3 separate regions of the Homo sapiens genome follow, and all the other regions are linked to region 1. The links are contacts of gene promoters, found by promoter capture Hi-C in blood cells and fetal thymus (Javierre and others, 2016). All regions are on one chromosome and are shown on one strand. The core of a region is centred on a gene start or on the middle of the fragment in contact, and the rest is flanking DNA. Distances in the headings are between cores, read along the strand shown.

The links. Contacts are between HindIII fragments. The CHiCAGO score rates a contact against its expected background, and 5 or more counts as called.
Region 2: a fragment that was not itself captured here is called in contact with the fragment with the promoter of HPGDS in region 1 in 1 of 17 cell types (M2 macrophages); the score reaches 5.3 in M2 macrophages.
Region 3: a fragment that was not itself captured here is called in contact with the fragment with the promoter of HPGDS in region 1 in 3 of 17 cell types (M0 macrophages, M1 macrophages and megakaryocytes); the score reaches 7.1 in M0 macrophages.

The regions. Positions count from the first base shown.
Region 1 is chr4:94,341,080-94,344,850 of GRCh38, reverse strand. HPGDS (hematopoietic prostaglandin D synthase) reads left to right here and starts at 2,015. Exons shown (of 6, transcript NM_014485.3): 1 at 2,015-2,056. The HindIII fragment of the contact is 10,951 bases long and covers 1-3,771 here.
Region 2 is chr4:94,624,498-94,628,268 of GRCh38, reverse strand. The region is part of intron 8 of PDLIM5 (PDZ and LIM domain 5); the gene reads right to left. Among named protein-coding and RNA genes, the nearest start is that of BMPR1B-DT, 130 kb to the left of the region's middle. The HindIII fragment of the contact is 869 bases long and covers 1,539-2,407 here.
Region 3 is chr4:94,601,403-94,605,173 of GRCh38, reverse strand. The region is part of intron 7 of PDLIM5 (PDZ and LIM domain 5); the gene reads right to left. Among named protein-coding and RNA genes, the nearest start is that of PDLIM5, 150 kb to the right of the region's middle. The HindIII fragment of the contact is 5,985 bases long and covers 1-3,771 here.

The sequences.
Region 1 (3,771 bases), core at 766-3,265:
GCGCCCAGCCTTATTTACTGCTATATCTCTAGCGTTCAGAACAATACCTGGCAAAGATTAGGAACAAATAAATATTTATTGTAGAATCAATCTCCATCTAAAGGTGAAGGAGCTCAGGCACAGAGAGATTAAGTTACCTGCCCAAAGGCCCACAGCTGGTAGAAGACTAGGAGAGTTAGAGCACCCCCACCTGGGCTGGGAGAAGAGACAAGAGGATGGGAAAGCTGTGCTTCCCGAGTAGAGGAGATCTGGGACCCTCTCCTGGGACCCTCTTGTGCCTCCAGGGAGGTAGAAAGACCACAGAGAAGAAGTGGCTCTGTTGGGTACTGGGCAGGTGGAATCTCAGGCAGCGTTGTGATGAAACCACCACACTGGGGCAAGAAGGTAGCAAAATGAGAATGCTACAGGAGCTGCAGAGAGCTCCTGGCGTGGAGGCCATGCACACAAGGACAATGGATGCCTCTAGAGCAGCCTCTGTTGATCGGTGACCAAGGATCAAGTGGCTGCTCCTTCCCCAATCCTTGATGTGTTACTCTGCTTTCCTCCAGCCAAAACAACTGGTCGTAAAAGATAAAATTGTAATACAAAATGAGAAAAGTGTTATTTTTTGTATACTTGATTTTTTTTTAACTGAAGCAGTCTCGTATTATATATAGGCAGCATTATGTAAGGAAAAATATTAAATGTGTCATCAGAAGGCCTAGATTTTAATCCTAGCTTGTCCCAACAAAAATTCGCAGGCAATTTACCTAATTTCCCTATGTCTCAGTTTCCTCATTTATAAAAATAGGGATTAAAAATCATTGAGGTGAGGATAAAAAGATTTTTTTGAAAATATAAGTTAAAGCTGTCAAAGATAATAAATGCATTGTGTTAATTTTGTATAGCTCCCACTCCCATCCCATTTGCACTTGATTTTGACACACATGTATCCTTTTTTGGTGGGTAAAGGGCTACACTTGCGTCTTCTCTTTTTACATACTAGTATTTACATTTATTTTCATTTCTGACGTTTATACTAAGTGGATGTAAACATATTTTTCAAAATTAAAAGCACTTTAGAAATAAGAAATATTAAATGATTGATATGTTGCTATTGTTGCCTGTGGGAGTAATTTTCTGGAAGTTGAAAGCCAGCTGGTCATTGAAATGTTTCATGGATAATCCTCAGGCTCAGTAAGGCCCAGGCAGGCATTTTATTGGATCTTTTCACTGAGCTGTCCTAATATTATAGATAAAAATAATTCCTGCACTAAGAAGTGAAACAATAAATTTCTAAAATGTCAGGCATTTGTTACTAAATTGTAAAAGGATCACAAACAAGATGAATTGGAAACTTCTACACCAGGTTTACTTTAAACACTTTGGCTTTTCTGAGAAATGAGAGTAAATGAAATAAACCAGCAACAATGCAAATTTACAGTCCTTGCAAAAACGTGAACTATAAATTAGGGTTATTCTATCATCAGATGTATATTAGTGGTCATGACATGCCTGGCACTCCTCTTAGAACTGAGGAGACAATAGTGAAAAAGACAGTGAAGTGCCTGCCTTTACAGAGCTTACATTCCACTGGGAGAAACCAAAAACAAACAAGTTAAATACACCACATTGTTAGACACTGCCTCGAAGGAACATACAGCAGGTACAGGAGAGACTGTTTCTAAAATAGAGAAGCAAGTCATGTGCACATCTGCAAAGATGATTTCATTACATTCAGGTTTTCTTATTCTCCAGGAGCCTATGGTGTAAAACTGAAAATAAGTGAACATGTAACAGTGGGCATACATATGCAGCTATAACTTTGACTTTACCTTGTATACAAATGTGTTGGTTTATTTATACCCAGATATCCTGTATAACCAGCAGTCTTCGCAGGCTTGAACTGCCTGGCATGCATGTTTTATCTAAGAAAAGAAGGAAGAGCGTTAGGTAGAAGGAAGTTGCCTGTCCTCTCACTGGCTCGTGATTATCACTTACTCGTCATATAAACCCAAGGCACAGTCACATACCCAGGGATACAAGACACTGCAGACTCCCGAGAGACATAACACAGGTAAGTCATATTACTGAACTCCACATAGGTAATAAATGAGATATGCTTTACTCTTTACTTCAGAGTTTTTATTATTCTCATATCCTGTTTGTGACTAACTGTCTTGTGAGCTATTTTCATGATGGTGCTCACTCTGACCTTGTCTTACCCAGAACCTCTCCATATATGCGAATATGTGAAACTCAAATAGTCATTTTTAAGGAAATATAGGTACAGGAGATTTAAGAAGATCTCTTCAAGTGGATTTTAACATAGAAAATATAATCAATGCTAGAGGAAAAATCCTGTCTTAATCAGGGTTTGTTACTACTTCCAGAATTTTCCCAAGTGATTCTTCAATAACTTGGATTGATGGAGTAGAGAATATTATCTCATGGCTGTTCAATTTCTTTCCTTTGCTTTAAAGTTTAAGACTTTTACTGGTAATATTTTATATTATTTTAAGGCACATTTTGTTGAAGCATCTCCATGTTTTGATAAGAATTGCAACCTATCATCTTTTGGCTTCAGAGATGGTTTAAGGGATTTACCCCAGGCCAGGAATTTCAACTCACAGCTCCCAAAGGATATTTCAGTTATTCCTCTTGCTTTGGCTTTAATGTGAAACAGTCACTTAAAATGACATTTAGTTGATATTTGATAAAAAAAAAAAAAATAGAGCTTTCAGCTTGCTAATTCAAAGTTAAACATCCAGTGCTTGATTGAAATCAATATCTTACTCAGTCAACAACAATTCTTCTATTTCTCTATTGTCCTATAATTTAACTCCAACCTGGCAACTTTTCCAGAATTGAACTTGAAATGCCCAGGGACACTGTGAAATGAGGGAAATTAACATTCTTTACCATCAAATGTTAGGGGTAATAAAAAGCTGTTTTAATGTCAGTATATGCAAGAAGTTCCCCTGTGAACAATAGTATCTCACATGATTGCTGTCTGAATCCAATTTTTACATTTCAGAACACCAGGGTCTATATAATAGGAGTGTAAACATGCTCTAGGCCATTACATTTTGTATAAGTTTATTACTGGGCAAGTTAAGATCTGCATCTTAAACTCAAAGAAGAGCTATAGCAAATTCACAAGTAATCTTTGTTTTTATATCTCTAACTCAGATTATTGCGCAATTACTAAGCATGTAAAAAACTGTGTCTGGAATGCCCAAATATGTTTGAATTCTTGATGTGTCGTATTTAAGAGTAAGAGCTTACGTTGGCTAACATTTTGTATTGAACTGTAGAATGGTCAATACTTAATTCCTCATTTGTAAGTTTTCTATCTAACAAAATTATTCCAAAAGTTCTCTTTTTTGAACTAAAAATATTTCGGCTGAAGTCTTTATTAAGATGTTTAGTATAGGCATTGGATATTGATTAGCCTGTGTTGTCAGAGAGTTGAAATTGGATTGTTGTCATCTTTCTGGCACAGAGACTAGAATTTTTGAGACTATTTTTTACTGTGCTTTTACAGCAGTATACGGAATAATATATTGTTAAATTGTTTTATTATAAAAGTTTGTAATTTTTTCAATGATTATGTTAAAATTGCCTCTGGGATTGAATTAATCAGATGAAATAAATCAGCATTGTATTAGTTAGTTTTCACGCTGCTGATTAAGACATACCTGAGACTGGGTAATTTATAAAGAAAAAAAAGTTTGGCCGGGCGAGGTGGCTCAGCCTGTAATCCCAACATTTTGGGAGGCCGAGGCTGGC
Region 2 (3,771 bases), core at 724-3,223, 280 kb before region 1:
ACATCTAGCATAAAAACTAAATTTCAAGATACATAGGCTCCTAGTTCTGGGCTTTCTAGCTGTGATGTTAGAAATGTCATCATTCTGGGTCTTAAGTTACCTCATCTGTAAAACAGCAATAATAACTACCTCAAAGGGTGAGAGGATTCAATGAAGTAGTAAAAGTGTTTACTTATACTTCCTTGAATCTGTAAGAAATGCTTCATACATGTCAATTATTATTACACTCTGACATAAGATCTTACATAGTTAAAAAATAAAACATCCACTCATTCAACAACTACTTAGTACATACAACGTTTTAGATGTAAGAATTCTTCTGGTGTGGAAGATACATTTAAGGATAAGATATCTGCCCAGAAAGAGTTTATCTTCTTAAAGACACTACAGACAAGCAAATAGGCAATCACAGTATCTCAGGACTAGTGCTACCAAGGGTGCTGATGGCTGTCAATAAAGTCTGCAACTAACCATGCAGAATTATCAAGCATTGTTATTCTTATTCATGCGTTTGAAAACCAGTGTTAACAAAACTTTTTCTGTAAAGAGCCAGAGAATAAATATTTTAGGCTTTGTGGGCCTTACAGACTCTTGCAATATTCAACTCTGCCATTGTGGCATGAAATCAGCCATAAACAATACGTAAACAACCGTACCGTAGCTGTTTTCCAACAAAACTTCATTCACAAAAATCAGTGGTGGGCCAGATGTGACCAAGGAACACCATTTGCCAAACTTTGGTTTAAACCATATGCATCAATTAATAGAACAATTCTTTATGAAAAGCATATATGAACAAATGTAGATGTCTGCCTTATAAAAAGTTTAATATTTTAATCTCAGAAAGAGAAGAAAATGGGGAGAAAGAACAGCTTTCACAGATGAAGCCTTGCATCAGCACTGGAAAGCTTCCAACACGCAAATAAATTTCAATGAAGGAACAATTAGAAGAAAAAGAAAACAGGCAATTAATGGTTGTTACTTTTATTTTTTCCTGAGAATCAGAAACAAAAATCTACTTGTTATGTAAGGAGATGGGCATATTTACATGTTTCACACCCCAGTTTTGACAATGGACAGCTCCAGTCAGGGCTTTACGGCAAGAGGGCTGTTTAGTTTAATGATGTCAAAATGCAGGGGAGCAGATGGCAATAAAACATTATTAGAAGAGATGAAATATACGCAACTGGTAGCAGTTTACTTATTCATATAAAAATTTTAAAATGGAACCAATAAATCTATCCATCTTAGCTAGGCAAATTTAGTTATCTCGATTTATTACTGTAGTGCAAAGCCTACAATGAAATTTGGGATGGTTGTAGAAACAGTAATTTCCTTTCTCACCCCTATCTCCCTTAGACTTCAAATAAAAGATAGAATTTATATCCACTTATAACTGAGATGCACATCATTCAGTCTTTGATCTAATCAAATCTCACAAATATATTTGAGTCTTTCTCACAAAAAAAAAACAAAAAAACACCGAAACAACATATCAGATCTCTCCAAAGCTCAGTCTACAATGAAGTAAACAAGCTTTTCTTTATTGCTAAATGTAGCACACACCAGAAGCGGGTATGATTAAAAAAAAAAGAAAAACACATTAACTAGAATCTTAGCCAAATGATCTAAATTTCAAAAACGGAGTTTAGATGCAAAGAAAATGTTACTTGAAACAGATCTTAGCAGTTGCCAGTCACTTGAAGCTCCCTATTATCCAAGGCAAGAATCCTTTCTATCCCATCCCTAACAGATACAGTCCTCCTTAAATACGTTCACTGATACTGTCTTTTGACTTAGGAAAATACAGTATTCAGAGTCAAAACAGCTGGGTTCAACTCACTACAGAACTCTAAACAATTCTTTTGACTTTTCTCAGACACTGCTACCTCATTAAATAATGCCTATTTAAATTTTAAATTTTAATGACATTACCTTATTGTGCATTCTTATAAAAATATCTGTTACAACTGAAAGTATTACAAAAACAATGATTACTACTAATCAATGATAGTCATCATTCTACTGTTAAATGTTAAATGTTTGTTCCTTTTAGGCCGCCCATTGTATTCATGAGTTCCCAATCCTCAAATAGGGATGGTGAAAACTCCTCAGATGGGGTACAACAGAAGCAAAAATTAACTATTCATTTTGAAAAGCAAGTTTGTGTTTTTTCCCGTTTCGTTTGATCAAAAGAAATTTATACTGTCCCCAAAAGACCTTCAAATGGTCACAACTTTTATATGTATAGCTTACTTGTATCATGCTTCTTCAAAACACAAAACAACTTATATTCTAAAAAAGAATCATAAACTTTTGTTTTTACATTCTTGTCAATTAAGAGCCTTTGTCTTTACTACATATCCAAACTGTCTCACAGAGAAAAGCAAATCACTAAGATAAAGCTTATATACATATCACCTAATTCACATAAAGGGAATGGTGCCTCAACAAGAGCATAGAGAAACTGTTATCTGTTCAATACGGACTATCAGAGGTTAAGAATGTCTAATATTGGCCGGGCGCAGTGGCTCACGTCTGTAATCCCAGCACTTTGGGAGGCCGAGGCGGGCAGATCACAAGGTCAGGAGATCGAGACCATCCTGGCTAACACGGTGAAACCCCGTCTCTACTAAAAATACAAAAACATTAGCCGGGCATGGTGGCGGGCGCCTGTAGTCCCAGCTACTTGGGGGGCTGAGGCAGGAGAATGGCGTGAACCTGGGAGGTGGAGCTTGCAGTGAGCCTAAATAGCGCCACTGCACTCCAGCCTGGGCAACACAGAGAGACTCTGTCTCAAAAAAAAAAAAAAAGTCTAATATTAAATGATAAAATACTACTGCCTTGAGTATATCGCCATAATATCATATCAACTAATATCAATATATGTTTTTATTTTCCTCAGTAGAATGCCTGCCTCCATGGACACGTTTAATAATATCCACTAATTTCTTGTCAACACCAGGGACATGAGAGTAAACAGGGCTCAACTGGGAGTTGTGTGTACACACAATTAAAGAAAGTATGAAGGTAGCATTCTAATATGCTATAAACTGAATACAATCCTCCACGGGTGTTTTAACAGAGGATACATAGGTACTCTATAGGGAGTCAAGTTCCCAGAGAGGGCAATGGTTAAAACCAGCAGCCCAGTTAGGTTAAAGTGTAAATACCCTGCAGTCACCCTGCCCAGGGAATTCTCTCCAAAACACTGCCACTGCCCAGGGCAATATTCATTATCTATCTCCAGATTGGATTACCTGAATAACTTCTTAAATGGTCTCCAGGTCTCCAACCTTAATCTCTACAATGAAGTCATGATGATCTTTTAAACACATTAATGCTATAATAATCTTTTAATAATGCAAGTCTGATTTTGCCACTTCCGGCTTATAAATGTTTTAATAGCTTCCTTTCAGCATCAAGTCCACACTCTTACATTCAAAACCCCCATTAATGCAGCCAACCTTCTCTCTGGGCCACTAGACAGTCTTAAACATACTGAACTACTTGTCTTTCCTACCCGAAGCCAAATTCTCTCAGTTTTTGCATATGTTGCTCCCTCTCCAAATCGGCCTCTTCCTAAAAATGTTCAAGGGTCGTTGACTACATGCTATTTTGTTTTAGGCACAAACATTAAAATATTGTTCCTGCATAAAATAGGACTTCACTATAAACAAATACATATTTTACCTCAAGATTGTATCCTCAGAACTTTAAGTCTTTTTCTTCCCTTTCCACTGATCCACACCTCCATGCCTCTGAACTGGG
Region 3 (3,771 bases), core at 783-3,282, 260 kb before region 1:
CCATCTCCTCCCTTAATCTCAGTGGCCTCGATTAATCCATCTCTCCTTCTCTACTGGATGCTTTGTGTCCTCTTTTAAAATGCAGTAGTTTCTCTTAAAAACAACAGACTATCTTTACTTTCTATTTTCCTGTTCCACTTACCAGCCAGACTCTGAAATAACATTATACTCACTTGACTGTCAGTCTTCAGCCATCTCAACTAGACCCCAACCCCCAACACTCTATGAAACTGCATCTTGCTAAGGTCACTGATGACCTTCTTGTGGCTAAATTCAATGGACAATTTGCATTCCTCATTTTAAAAACTGTGGTAAAAAATACATAACATGAAACTTACTATCTTAACGATTTTCAAGTGCACAGTCAGTAGTGTGAAGTACGTTCACATTATTGTGGAAGAGATCTCCAGAAGTTTTTCATCTTGCATATTCGAAACTCTATACCCATTGAACAACTACCCCTTCCCCCTCCCCCTAGCCTGTGGTAACCAGCACCATTCTACTGTTTCTATGAAGATGACTACTTTAATTCTTTTTTTGGAGACGGAGCCTCACTCTGTCACCCAGGCTGGAGTACAGTGGCACAATCCCGGCTCACTGCAACCTCCACCTCCCTGGTTCAAACGATTCTCCTGCCTCAGCCTCCTGAATAGCTGGGACTACAGGTACGTGCCACCACGCCTGGCTAATTTTTGTGTTTTTAGTAGAGACGGGGTTTCTCCATGTTGGTCAGGCTGGTCTCGAACTCCCGACCTCCAGTGATCCGCCTGCCTTGGCCTCCCAAAGTGCTGGGATTACAGGCGTGAGCCACCACACCCAGCCCGAAGATGACTACATTAGATACCTCCTAAGCCTGACCCGAAGATGACTACATTAGATACCTCCTATCAGTGGAATCATACAATATTTGTCTTTTTGTGCACATTCCTCATTTTACTTAGTGTCTGGCTCAATTGACTACTGCTTCTCTTTTCCTGTCATTTGTGCCTCAACCCTATTTACCTGCCTGTTTTTAGTAGTATTTCACTGGCTATTCTGTTGCCCGAGAGTTCTCTGTCCTAGGCTTTATTTCTCTGTACTCTGCTATCATTAGTACAGTGACATTACTCTGTCCTGTAGCTTTAACACCACCTAATGTCCAGATTTATATCTAGCCCAGCTGTCTCCTATGAGCAGTAGCCCATATTTTGAATTGCCCTTTAGTTATTAATACCTCTAATATCTCTCTGTCTCAAATCATCTTTCACCATGTCCAAATGACTCTACTTCCAAATTTATATTTTTAATCTATCAGTGGTGTGATGGGTCCCCTACCAGGTTACTTAAGGGTGTTATATTCAATGCTTGAAACTTGAGGGCCAGGCAGTTAGCTAAGGCCATGGTGCCTAGCCGAGAAGCAGGGGTCCCTGAGAACGCAAACATCCTGAGGCATGGCTGGGAATATACCAAGGAAAAAAGTCCCAGCACACTCACACACGCGCGCGTGCGCACACACATACACGGCAAAGAGCCAGAAAATTAGCTTAAAAGCAGCCTAGAGATGGGAGGCGGTGTGGATCTCTTGGAGCCATACTGCTGCTGTCCAGCAGTGCCCTGTATGTATGTCCTAATAAACTCATCTACTCATCAAGCTGGACTTGTCTGAGTCATTCTCTTGGCAACGTCCCAGTTTTCCCAGTTTGCGGAGGGTTGGGGGGGCATTACAGTCCCAAGTTTTTCTCATTACGCCATCCATCTACCCCATTTCTCTGCTACCACCCTCTCTCATCCAGACTATGATAAGCACTAACTTATACTAGTGATTTAAGAACTGTCTAACTGCTCTCTTGCTTCCTCTCTTGCCAAATCCTGCCCCTTCCAGCCCCTGTGTTTTCTGGCATGGTTTAGTATAGCCCATGTGCCTTAAGAAAAAACAACAAAACACATTTTATCAAATCATTCTTTTGATTAAAACCTTGCAACAAATTCCTACTGCAGTTAGGATAATACCCAAAGTGCTTAACATTCTCTACAAAATCCCCAAATGACCTGTTATGATCAACCTCTCAATTATCTTTCCACACCAATTTTCCCTTTATTCACTGAACTCCAGTCACATTAGACTACCTGTACAATGTCTTGAACAAACTAAGTTCTTCCAGGATTCAGGCTCTTGGTCATTAATGATAATATTATTACTTTTACTTCATTTTTTAACTTACATGTAAATCATTTGTTAATAATAAAAGCAAATATTTTTTCATCGCTTAATATGTATCATCATATTTAATCCTTCCAATAATCTTTCAACCCTGGTACTAAAATTATCCTTGGTAATTTACTAAAGTTAGTACTTTGGTATATGGTGGAGCTACTGTACTGGCACCCATGGTTAGAATAACTTCAGTGGAATGAGGAGAACAAAAACCAGGCTGCAGGGGCCTGGTGTGGTGGCTCACACCTGCAATCCCAGCACTTTGGGAGGCCAAGGCAGGTGGATCACCTGAGGTCAGGAGTTCAAGACCAGCCTGGCCCACATGGCAAAACTCCGTCTCTACTAAAAAAAATATAAAAATTAGCTGGGTGTGGTGGTGGGTGCCTGTAATCCCAGCTACTCGGGAGGCTGAGGCAGGAGAATCACTTGAACCTGGGAGGCGGAGGTTGCAGTGAGCCAAGATCCTGCCATTGCATTCCAGCCTGGATGAGAGAGCGAAACTCCGTCTCAAAAAGAAACCAGGCTGCAGGATGGTAAAGTTCTCTATCAGTAATAAAATTTCAAAATGTTAATTTGGGTCATCCAGATTTTGATGGAATTATATGCAAACTATGTTCTAAGAAGAAATCTGTCACAAAGGCGAACCTTAAAAAAATCTTAAAAATAATGCAAACATTTTCTTTTACAACATAAAAATGGCATCTTCAATTAAAATTTTAAATGCTTCCTATTTCTGAATATAAATATGATAAAATGATCAAATAGACTAGTGACTTATTACATACCCACACGACGAGTTTTCAATAAGAGGAAAAATTCACAAACCTTGAAATATACGTTTTATTAAAAGGTAAAGGAGGAAAATGACAATAAATTGTCCTTGGTATTCTACTTCCACAAAGCAAACTTTTATGTAATAATATTGCTAAGCAGAAACTAGAATATATCAGAGTCATAGCTAGATTCTGCCCTTTTGGGGTTCACTGGCATAGCAAAGCTATTTATTTTAGCCAAGGAAACTGCTAGGCATGTGAAAAAAATAAGTATTTTCTGCTGGCTTCCTGACAATAAATATGTTGAGTTTGCTCATTTGTAACTATGATCTCCCTTCTGGAAAACTAAATCAACTAAACCTCAGGTGGGAATTTCTGGTACTCTCAATCATAAGCTATCCATTTATTAATTGGTTTTCAATAGTCTTTGTTTCTGTAGCAGCCTGAAAATGTTACTTGAGCCTGCTAATTCTACCTTTATTACATAGATGGCATCTTGAGAATTTAAAAATAAGCAAGTAGAGTTATCCTTGCTTTGCACATGGCAGACAAGGAGGACTGGATCTTAGAGGCTAAAAGGTTATGAAATAAATTATCAAACATGAAAATACTACCCAAAATGAGGTTGATTTTTTGTAAGAGCAAAGAAGGACTAACTCAAAGAAATCATTTTTCTAGGAGCTTCCCACTTACTTAAGCAAGGAAAAGATAGGCAAACAAAAAGGGATATTGCTGAAGGAATTGGAACTTATTATTTGTTGTTATACAGTGAACGTTTGTGTCCCCCCAGCCCCAAATCATATG